Regions from separate parts of the Homo sapiens genome. Here region 2 is linked to region 1. Evidence: promoter capture Hi-C in human tissues and cell types (Jung and others, 2019). All regions are on one chromosome and are shown on one strand. Each heading gives the region's core, a stretch centred on a gene start or on the middle of the fragment in contact. The rest is flanking DNA. Distances are from core to core; before and after follow the strand shown. Region 1 holds the start of TMEM11 (transmembrane protein 11). Region 2 holds the start of LOC124903951 (a long non-coding RNA gene).

Region 1 (5,761 bases), core at 1,376-3,875:
GAGCTGTGGTTCTAGACTCAACAAGGTAAAGCAAGAACCCACACGCTACACGTGCTAAACTGGACCATCCAACACACAGCGCCGGCAGTAATACTGCAGGCAGTCTGGCACTGGGTGGGACCTTTAAGTACAATGCATGCTTCAGAGTTGGTAGCCGCTGGCAAATCTGGCAAGTGTGCCCAAAGTGTCACTCTGTTCTAGCCCCTTCCCCAAACCAGATAATGTTTCCCTCAGCTTCAGCAAAAGCAGATGCTAACCAGGTGTGAGCAGCAACGGGAGAGAGCACTCGTATAACATGGAGCTGAGATTTGAGTCAGCACGAATGTGACATGGAACAAAGTCATTTTAGAGAGCCATAAACAGCCTACTTCAGTCATAAGAGCCAATAATACACTCAGATCTCATAATCTAGAGTGCTGGGCCATCAGCTAATCCGCCCTGCCCCACCTGAACAGTCATCACCAACTGAGCAGGAATGGAGGGATGCCCAGAAGTCAGCTCGCTAGCCCCACAGCGGGTTATGTTTCCATCCCCTGCTCAGCATGGGAAGAGCTTAGGGAAGCTGGGCTCGGGGAAATGACTCTTCCAACAGAACCTGGCTAGGGGTTTACAGCAAGAGCAAACAGACAGGTAGTCTCCACCCATACCACGTTATCTAGGAGAGTAGATGGTGACATCCAAACTACAAAACCAAATGCCACATTCCTGCTGACACACAACATCTGCGTGTGTGAGTAGAGCCTTCAGTTCCAGGCCAAAGGTGCAACCTGAACACCTACAGAGACCAAGCAGGCAAATGCATTGAGTCAAGCTGACAGGTGATTTGAGTCAAGCTGTCAGGTGATTTGAGTCAAGCTGTCAGGTGAGGAACCAAGAACTGGAACCAAGCACTTGTCCCGACCAAAAAGAGTCAGCCACTACCCAGCTTTTCAGGGAGCGTTTTATATGAAATCTGCTGGCAACTAATTTAAATTCTCTTAAAAACTGTTGAGGTTCAACAGTCAAGGACTGGATCCAGCCTATGCACTGCTAATTTGCAGATCCATTTTGAATAAACAGTTGTCTCAAGCCAAAACAAAAACAATTCTCAGCATCTATTTTCTTAGATCAATAAAAGCTTAACCTGTGCTGGCAAGGCTCCTGTTCCCTGCCTGAGGCATCCCTATTCGGCTCTTTTCAGATGCTTTTAGTCCAACAAGAGGGCGTATGTTTCTAATACTTTGTTTTCTAAACAGGTTATTTCGTATTACTGTTTGCATTGAATATCTTGAAAATGTTTGCTAGTTTTTAAGAGCATCTGAAAACCATTGAGGTAACTTATTTAAATGGTCCAATCTAATACCAGGCGGGAGTTAGAAAAACAAAAGTGTGTTTACCACTGCTTTTCCAAGGAAGAGGAAATGCAGAATGGGCAACGCTGGATAACTGGGCTAAAGAATAAAGTGCAAGCAAGCTAAAGGATTCTATCACAACTGCCAAACAGGAAGAATCTTCCCAGCTGGGAAAGCCATCTGCAAGCAATAGCAATGAACACGGGATGGAATCAGTCACAGAAAAGGAATAATGCAGAGTAGTTGAGAGGAAGATAACTTTTCTGTTAGACAATCCTCACCAAAAAGACGGGGAGGGGGAGAACCAGCAAAACAAAAACTTTTCCTTTTTTGCTGACCGCTGCTATAACAATCAAGCTTTAGCGGACAGTTAATCCAGGTGGCTCCACCAATACATCTTCTCCCAAATTTCTAGTGGCTGAACAGCTTCTAGTGGTTTCCACTAGCTGAAACTGCTTCCCAGATGCAAAAACTGCAACTTGAACATGAAACACGGAAACTACTCCAATCTCATCTTCTAGAAATCAGTTATTCAAATGGAGGTCCCTGTTGGAAGAAACACGCTCCTAGCTCCCTGCCCACACACCATTCATTAGGAAAGGTCACTTTAAAGGACTTCTACGGCAGGAGCGCTTGCACAGAACCATCCAAAAGTCTTCAGAATCTTCCCTCGAGGAAGTGGCCGGCTCTGGGCTCGGAAGAGACACATCTGGCGGGAGCTAAAGCTCCCTAGTAAACGTGCAGATCAAACTACCCCTGCCGCGGCCGGCCTGCTCTGTGAAGGCTTCCCCTTCTTTCTCTCTCCGGGGGCCCTGCCTTCCTCTACACGTCTGGGGCCGCGGCCGAGATGGCCACGCGCGTGCCCAGGCGGGAAGGGTGCTTCAGCAGCCGATCGGCCCGCGGGCAGCTAGGCGGGTCCCTGAGGCCTGCGCTGGGCGCCAGTTCCTTTCAGCACGGCCCGGCCTCGGGCCCCGCCCCGCATGGCCGCTGCCTACCTTACTCAGCCCGGCTAACGCCCCTTCCCCTAAGCTCTCCGCCGAGGCCTTCGACCTCGCTCCCACCCGGATCCCGGATCCTCCGGAACTGGAACCCAGTATGCCCGGCGAGGGTAGGGGGAGCGCGGGGAAACCAGGGAAGGAAGGCTGCTGCAGCCCTCGGAGGCCGCGCTGGGCTCTCCGGCCGCTGAGCCGCCTGCACTGGGGGCAACAAGCCCTTGGATCTCACCTCTCTCGGGCGCTGCCGCCACTGCTGCCCGGGCCAAGACGCCTCCTTCCCCAAGCGGCCATCTTGGAGACACTCTGCTTGCCAACGTCTCGCGCCAAGGCGGCATCGGGAGAGCAGGCGGGCCGACGGGAAGTGTAGTCCGGCCTGCGGTCCGGGGCCGCTCGGCAGGCGGAAGCCAGACCCGGCGGAACTACCGTGCCCACAAGGCAGCGCGCCGGAAGCCCCGCCCCCGGGGTCGCCGGGGCCCGTAGTCCTTCTGCGAGGGCGCGAGGACTCCAGGAGCCGTCCTGGTTCGAGCATTTCTGAAGAAACTGAGTTCCCGGCGTTCGCAGCCTGGGAGTCACAGGCGCCCACCCACCGGTAGGTCCTTGAGTTTCGAGAGCCAGTAGCTGAAGGAGAGAGGAGAGGCAAGTGCCTACAACTCCCAGAGCACTGCGCGGAGGCGCCCGGCCGCGCTGTCCTGGCCGCCAGGCTGCCTCTCCCGCTGGGGGCCGCCGCGCTGTCTGCGGGCTACTAGCGCCGGGCCCCTCCGCGTCGCCACGCCTGCCCTTCACAGCCTTGGCCCATAAGGTCACCGAGGGGCGGGAGGCGCCGCCCGGGCCCTCCTTGGAGGCGGGCGCTGCTCCCGCACCATCCTCCCCCAGTTCTCTTAGACTCCGGGGTACTTTGGAGGCCGAGACAGACACGCTGTCCCTGCTGCCACGGAGGTCCCTGCTTGCAGGTGCAGGCTGTTAGAGGAGAGGGTCTGAAAACAAGAAAGGGGAATAGCTGTATGATAACTGCTTGAAGGCGAGAGGGCCCAGCGACAGCTCTGTTTTAGACAGGGCCTCCAGGCCTCTTAGACTCAGTCCCTGCCACGCACCCACTCCTGCCCTGGCCGCTGCGACGGCATAATCTCGGGATCTTTGAAGGCAGATGCGGGGCTAAACCATCCCACCTGACGGGAACCCTGCCACAGGACCCGACATATCCCTGTCTGGACACTGCTGTAACGAGTCAAAGTCAGGAAGGACTAACTGGAGCCCAGAGATTCCCAGGTGCTGCTGCCTCAGACCTGTGGACTCTTTGGAGGATCTCTTACAGTTTGTGAACTTCTCAGTTCCTCTACTGCTCCCACAGACAACGTTGCTAAACATATTAATTGGTCCCATAAATACTTGAGCAAAACAAATGCGAAAATCTGTCCCGAATTCAGCCTAGAAGAAGCCCAGCCCTGCGCGTCACACTTCTGTGTAGTGGAACCCCCCTTCCCACCCCGCCGCAGGCCACAGCAGGAGGGCCAGCAGACGGAAAGGCGACCCTCTCCTTGTTGAGGATTCCTTTCGATTTCCTTCCAGCTGACATTCTACCACAGTTTTAGCTGCTTGCAATCCTCTCACCGTCCCTCATCACCTACAGTGTGTGATTCAAATTCCTTAGCACAATCAAGAAGCCCCTCCTTAGTTTGGAAGTTGCCTAGCTCTCCAAATTCAACTGCCTACCTTTCCCGTCTGGAACTTGCCAGGCTAGTAAATTCAGAGGGTTTGCAGATACGTAGATGTTCTATGCTTTACCTAAAATGCTTTTACCTCCCAGCCAACTTTTTTTTTTTTTTTTGAGACAGAGTCTTGCTCTGTCGCCCAGGCTTGAGTGCAGTGGTGCGATCTTGGCTCACTGCAACCTCCGCCTCCCAGGTTCAAGCAATTCTCCTACCTCAGCCTCCTGAGTACCTGGGATTACAGGTGGTGCCACCACACCCAGCTAATTTTTGTATTTTTAGTAGAGACGGGGTTTCACCATGTTGGTCAGGCTGGTGTCCAACTCCTGACCTCATGATCCATCCCCCTCAGCCTCCCAAAGTGCTGGGATTTACAGGCATGAGCCACGGTGCCCAGCTCTCCCAGCCAACTTTTGTCCTTCAAGACCTTGTACCTGTCTGGTCTCTAAAAAGTACCTGGCCTTCCTGTTGAGTCATACAGCCCTGCCTCCAAGTGTCAGCGTAGTTCATGCTGGAGACCTCTTAACAGTTCCATGGTATGACACTGCGGATATGGCTGTCTTTTCTTTGTATCAGTGTGGTGATTCAGAGGGTATACTAGGGATTCTAGAACGCACTTCTGGCTCAGGGGCTGCTTGTGTAACTTCTGTTTCTCAGCTGCCTGGTTTGTATCATGGGATGATAGTATCTCCCCTCAGAGGATTGCGGTATTTCATGAGGTGATACGTGTATGGAGGCCAAGTGCTGTTTTATATTTTAAGTGATCTACATCTTGATTTTCACAACAACTGTATAAAAGTGATACTGTTGGCCAGGTGCGTTAGCTCACGCCTGTAATCCCAGCACTTTGGGAGGCCAAGGCGGGTGGATCACCTGAGGTCAGGAGTTCAAGACCGGCCTGGCCAGCATGGTGACACCTCGTCTGTACTAAAAATACAAAAATTAGCCGGGCATCGTGGCACACGCCTGTAATCCCAGCTACTCGGGAGGCTGAGGCATGAGAATCATTTGAACCCGGGAGGTGGAGGTTACAGTGAGCTGAGATCGCACGACTGCACTCCAGAATGGATGACAGAGCAAGACTCTGTCTTAATAATAGTATCACTTTTTTTTTTAATCAACAATCTCATTTTGTAAATGAGGAAATCAACTTACAGACGACCTGAGTGACTTGCTCACACTGCCAGCCAGGAAAGTGCTAGGATTTGAGCCCAGACTGTCCAGTTACAGAGATTACACTCTGCCATTGTGCCTCTCCAGAAGCACTGGAGGTAGGTCTAGTGCATAGAGTAAATGTAAATGCTGAAACAACTGTGGCCCTAATGAACATCCCATTTCTCCAGCTTTTTACTCTCCCCTTAACTTCTGAATGACCGTCTGCTTCTAATCTGCCAACTTGGTCTAAGATCCTCACGGTGTTTCCTCCTGATTACTGTTAATGCACGGAGGTTGTCTGGAAGGTTCATAGGCAGCCTGATTGACTCAGTATGTATTAGCTGAGCACCTTTGGAGGGCACAGCCTGAGTGGTGGGAATTAGTTCCTGGGGGCTGTCCTGCGGTGGAGACTCCCGTGAGCCCTCTGTCCTGCTGTATGAAGGCAGCCAGTGGAAAGGCATGTCCTCGCTGGTGCTCAAAGTAATCTGCTACTTCTCTTACTACACTTTTCATTCATTCATTCTTAAATCGTTGAAGGCATACTCTGCAGGTACTCTTGGGCACAGAGATACGG
Region 2 (5,761 bases), core at 953-3,452, 240 kb after region 1:
AAAGCTTGAGAAGGAGGAGGGTGGCTGTGTCCCAGGAGCTGGGTTGGCACCCTCAGTGAGGTTGTGGGGCTCTCGTGGAGAACACAAACCATCCCTCAGGACAGCAGCAGCAGGCAAGACCCCAGATGGTCCTGATCAAGACAAAGACAAGCCACTCCAGCATCCTGTCTGAATACAGACAGATGGGAGCATCTCTCAGGCCAGGAGTGCCAGCCGTGTCCCCTCCCAGCCCACATGGTGACTGCTGCTTTGGCCTTGGTGACAGCCTGTCCTGCCCTTGTCAGGCCTCCCGGGGGATGAGGTTTATGAAGCTTCCAGTGTATACCTACCTCCTCCTGCTTCCTGACAGTGCTCAACTCAGAGCCAGCCCCCTCTCCCGTTAGTCCACCCCTGGCCAGCTGGCACACACACACAGCCTGCGGCAAGGCTCTTCCAAGCCTCTCACTGCACCCTCCACAGCGCCATGGCATATTCTTGCAGAATGGAACAGTAAATCCAGCTGTAGTTTAACAACAGGTGTGTCTCTGGTAGGCACACTAGGCAGCGGCTCATTGGCCTGTATTTAAAATATGAACATGTGCATGACTGCAAAGGCCTAGATCCTCACTTTTTCCTACAAACCAGAATTGCTGTTCTCAAAGTTTAAACCACATTTGCAATACATGAGATCGATCCACAGCCTGAGTGGAAGGAGCCACATGCAGGGGATAGGGGGCCAGGCCACCCTTGGGCAGAGAATGTGGGTGCATGGAGAGGGTGTGTGGGGCAGGAAGGATCCCTGAGTGTTTCGAGCAAAGAGTGTGTGATCCTGCCTGCCCTTGGTGCCGTCCACTGGGGCTGGTCAGTGAGGCCGAGTCCATCATGGTGGTGGGGACACATGGCAAAACTAGAAGCCCTGGGGGAGCTGGGGGAAGGGAGCAGGCACCCATTATGCTGCCGTTGCAGTTTTCTATAAGTTCTATAATTATTTCAAAATAAAATATTTTAAAATGACCATGTCCCTAAAGGAGGGATAATAGTAAGCCTCACAATAGAGATTAGTCTGTACTCAGACCCACTTCAGCTCCAGCTGTGAAGCTTCTTCTGCTCTCCGATTCCAGAGCCTGATGGTGTTAAGGAGGCCCCTGTGGATGTTACAGCGATGTGGATGTTATGCTACAGACATCACAGTAATGACACTTTGGAGTCTCGGGTGATTTCCCCATTCTGTGCAGGCGGCAGGATTTTCCATTTCCCTTTTCCCACATGAGCCCTTCCCCTACTGGGTATCTTGAGACTGACCACCCTTTGCCCCAGGCTGGAAGCCACAGAGAAGGCCATCTACTTGGGTTTCTCCCTTCCATGGAGCCTCCCTGCTTCTGTTCATCACCTGGGTCCCTCTCAAAGACCACAGAAGCTGCTCTCAGGTCTAATTTTCCATCTTGATTGTGCCAACAGTGAGTTTCACACATGTATGTTTCAGGCAGAGAGACGCTTGCACAGAGTGTGGGGATACCCTTGGTGGCTCTTTCCCCTCCGGGATTCTTCCTTCTTTCTTCTTCTTCCTCCTCTTCTCCCTCCCCTCCTCTCCTTCTCCCTCCCTCCCCTCCCCTCTTCTCCTTCTCTCTCTCCCTTCCCTCCCCTCTCCCTCTCTTCCCCTCCCCCTCCCCTTCCTATTTGTCACCCAGGCTGAAGTAGCGAAATGACAGCTCACTGCAGCCTTGAACTCCTGGCCTCAAGTAATCCACCCGCCTCAGCCTCATGAGTAGCTGTGACTACAGGTGTGCGCCACCACTCCCGGCTACATTTTTATTTTTTGTAGAGATGGAACCTTGCTCTGTTGCCCAGGGTGGCCTCAGTCCCTCTGGGATGCTACTGGGGAGTTACAGTGTCTCTGGGGCACAAGGGATTGACTTGATCATGACTGCCATTCCCCAGATGGTGACCCAGGTGCTTGAGAAGCTCATGCCTTTCCGGGCCCATCTCAGAGGCAGTGGGGATGATCATCAAGGGTCTTCCTTGTGACTGATGGGGAGCAGCCATTCAGGGGCCCTGGTGGGGGCCCTGGCAGGGCACGGCCTGCCACACCATTCCAAAGGTTCAGATTGTGACCTGCACACTGCAGGTGTCCCTTGTCCATCCCTACAGGGAAGAGTATGGCCATCTCCATTAGGCAGTGCCTTGGGTGTCCAGATGGCTTCCAGGGGTGACACTGCAGGTCTGAGAGAACTTGGATTGGAGAAAGGAACTGGAGGGATGGAGCAAGATTGGGCTCATAGGCTCAGCATCCCCAGGGAGCTGTGGTGACATGAGCCCAAGTGGGAATAGGTGTCTCTGCCGCTGTGGGAGTCCCAAGTTGGTGCCTGGGGAGGGCAGGGCTGAGGGGTTGCTGGGAGGTGAGTGTTGAGAGGCCTAGGAGGCCACGTCCATGAATGGGTCTGGAGACCTGGGGGGCTGGGTCTGAGGGAACGGGAGCAGGTATAACCGAGGGAGCTGGTGGGAGGACTCCAGCCCAGCTGTTCAGGGGAGCCCTGAGTCACTTTGGGGGTGTGAGGAGAGTGGAGGAAGTGGATGGTCCTGGTGCCTCAGGTGAGGGGGCGGGCTGCAGGGGGCCAGCCTTGTGAAATGCAGATCAACTTGGAGGTGAGCTCGGGAGCATGCAGGTGAGGACCCAAGAGACCGGGGGGTGCTGGGGCAGGTGGGGCAGAGAGACCAAAGACTGAGGCCCAGCAGGACCTGGGGTAGAGAAGAGAGGGTATAGGGAGGAAAAAGGGGGCAGCTTCACCAACTCATCAACTAAGGGATGGTTGGGGTGGGCCAGGAGCTAAGCAGGGGGTGGGGTGATGGGGGAGATGGAGCCCTCACGGGGCAGCGGGGCCCTGGGCACTGGTTTATGTATGAACAGGTGGGCAAGTCCTCTAGAGTCGTGGAAAGTAAACATGAAACCCACAACTGCACACACGTCGTCCCTCGTTTTTGTCATGGCGTTAATCTCCAAGTGGCTTTGGTTCTTCCCCAGGCACAGAATGAAGCGACCCAGGTCATCACTGTCCTGGAGCTGCCCCTGCCTACTTTGACTTTTCTTCTTGGCCTGTATCTATGTCTGACACACACCAGTTAGTTTACGTGTAGGTCCATATGTTTATTGCGGCACTATTCACAATAGCAAAGACTTGGAACCAACCCAAATGTCCATCAATAACAGAGTAGATTAAGAAAATGTGGCATATATACACCACGGAATACTATGCAGCCATAAAAAAGATGAATTCATGTCCATTGCAGGGACATGGATTAAACTGGAAACCATCTTTCTCAGCAAACTATCACAAGGACAGAAAACCAAACACCGCATGTTCTCACTCATAAGTGGGAACTGAACAATGAGAACACTTGGACACAGGGCGGGGAACATCACACACCAGGGCCAGTAGGGGAGGTGGGGGAGTGGGGGAGGGAAAGCATTAGGAGAAATACCTAATGTAAATGACGAGTTTATGGGTGCAGCAAGCCAACATGGCACATGTATACCTATGTAACAAACCTGCACGTTGTGCACCTGTACCCTAGAACTTAAAGTATACAAAAAAAATTTACCTGTAGATCAAGCCAGGGATGTGAACTCTGGGCCGGTCCTGCACTGAGCGACTCCTTGATCCTGGACCAGGTCTCCTCCCGCAGGCGCCTGGCCCCGCCCCTCCCCTCAGTCGCCGGGCCCCGCCCCTCCCCGCAGGCGCCTGGCCCTGCCCGGCCCGGTCCCGCCCACATCAGAAAGCTCAGAGCAGGCTGCGGGCAGTTCCCGGGTTAGTCAGCAGGGGGCGCGTGAGGCGGCCTGGCCTGGCGGCTCCAGCTGAAATCAGCACAGCAGGAGGGAGGGTGACAGTGCCCTCCTATGCAGGTCAAACTACTAACAAATGATGTGGCTGGAGAATACTTGACAGCACGATGACTAAACACGTCAGTATAAAATGAGATCATGAAGCATGCTGTGCCCAGCTCTGCGGTTAGTTCACAGTATTTTACAAAGCGTCGTTTCCAAACGCTCAGGAAACACCAGCTACCTATAATAACGCGTGACACGCACCTTCTTCAACACTCAGCACAGCTCTGCAATAATGGCCCAGCCTGATCTTCACGTTGGAGGTGAGGACACAGGCCCTGGAGGATTCAAGTGGCAAGGTCACAGAAGTGGTCACAGGGGACCACAGCCCCCCCTGCCTGGACTGCCCTAGGCTCTGGATCTGTAACCCCTGGCTTGCTCCCCATTCGCCTGCCTGACCACAGCTCCGAGGCCTCTGAAAAGCCTGGCAAGGTGAGCGGAAGGTCCCTGTGGTGTCGCCCCCAGGGCAGGGATGGGCCATGGAGCTTAGTTGAGGGGGAGGAGCTGGTACCTGCTGGAGGAAGCGCAGCCCTGGAGAGGGTGCCTCTCTGCCCTCACCCCGGTGGTGTGGAGTTGGAGAGCCTTGACTGCGGGGGCTGGGGAAGGTGGGCAGGCCCAGGGCAGTGGGGGAGCCGCCTGCTCAGCAGGAGGGCCAGAGGGAGGAGTGAGCTGTGTGCAGGGATGGTGGGCAGCAGGCAGGGGCAGGCACAGGAAGTAGGGCGCTGAGCTGAGGTGGTCCAACTCAGGAGCTGGGGAGGAAGGGAGCATGGAGGGGAGATGGGGGAAACTGGGCAGGTGCAGAGAGGGAGGGCGGGGAACTGAGGAGAAGACAGAGCAGGGGAAGTGAGGGAAGGGGAAGAAAGCACAGGAGCAGAGGGAGACTGGAAAGGAAACCCGGATGGCTCTCAGGGCAGGGAAGAAGGAGGGGATGGGAGCTGAGGGACATGGAGCCAACTGAGATGACGTAGGGAGGGCGGGGATGGCTGGGAGGGATGGCCTTAGCAGGAGAGGGCAGGGGACTGCGGGAGGGTGGAGAGGTCAACAGAGGCTGAAGGAAAGGGGGAGGGGAGCATGTTGGAGGAGATGGAACTGGAGAGCGAAGAAGGGAAGGGCATGAATGAAGGGGAGGGAGGCGGGAGAGGTCAGGTGCATCCAAGGGAGGTGAGGAGAGGGGAAGGGAGGTAAACTGAGGCAGGGACATGGACAGAGGGGATGGGAAGTGAGTTTATCAGGGGAGTCAGAGTGAGGAGAGGAAGGGAAGGACTGGAATGGAGGGTGAAGATGGAGTGTGAGTGGAGGTGAAGTGGGGAAGGGGGAACCAGTAGGGGCTTTGCATGGGAGGGGACATGAGTGAGGGAGAGGAGGGAGGTACAAAGAACTGGGGAAAGGGAGTAAGATAGAGGCCACAGGGGCTCAGGAGGAAGGGGAGGTCCCAGAATGGAGGGAAGAATCTTGGAAGAGCTGCAGTGGGTCTGTGTGTGTGTGTGGCGGGGAGCAGGAGGGAACATGTGCCTGAGACTGTGCTGCTTCTTGAAGAGGTGACAGAGACAACACCCTTAACAGAGCATTTTTCCTCCCCATCAGCCCGGTCACCTGGTCACCCTATGACCCCACACCCTGCAGCTGCACTGAGCTTCACTGACCTTGGGTGGGGATGCCTCCTGAGGGCTCTTTCTGTTGTTCTCGCATCTCTCCAGCCACATATTAAAGTGACTCAGACCATTTTGACGACCCTCCATTCCATGTTGTAGGTGACACTGGTTATCCATGTCCAAATCTCTTCTTCCCCAGCCGTTTGGTGTTTGGTGGATTAGAACAGCCCATGTCTGAAACCCTAGTCAGGGAGTTCACTACTTTTGACATCACGAAGAAAAATGTTGCCAAAGACTGAAAAATAACCAT

What was found. The method cuts DNA at HindIII sites, captures the fragments that hold promoters and counts their contacts. A contact is called where the count stands out against the background at its distance.
Region 2: a contact is called between a fragment that was not itself captured here and the fragment with the promoter of TMEM11 in region 1, in 3 of the 25 tissues and cell types used here (adrenal gland, dorsolateral prefrontal cortex and stomach).

What each region holds. Positions count from the first base shown.
Region 1 is chr17:21,211,536-21,217,296 of GRCh38, forward strand. TMEM11 (transmembrane protein 11) reads right to left here and starts at 2,626. Exons shown (of 2, transcript NM_003876.3): 1 at 2,556-2,626. The coding sequence starts at 2,617. TMEM11-DT (TMEM11 divergent transcript) reads left to right here and starts at 2,790. Exons shown (of 2, transcript NR_184102.1): 1 at 2,790-2,915. RefSeq lists enhancers at 2,528-2,627, 3,398-3,607 and silencers at 2,708-2,847, 2,968-3,237. The HindIII fragment of the contact is 15,648 bases long and covers 1,403-5,761 here.
Region 2 is chr17:21,453,410-21,459,170 of GRCh38, forward strand. It overlaps LOC124903951 (a long non-coding RNA gene), which reads left to right and starts at 3,786. Exons shown (of 2, transcript XR_007065664.1): 1 at 3,786-4,291; 2 at 5,444-5,583. RefSeq lists a silencer at 3,626-3,705. The HindIII fragment of the contact is 8,684 bases long and covers 1-5,761 here.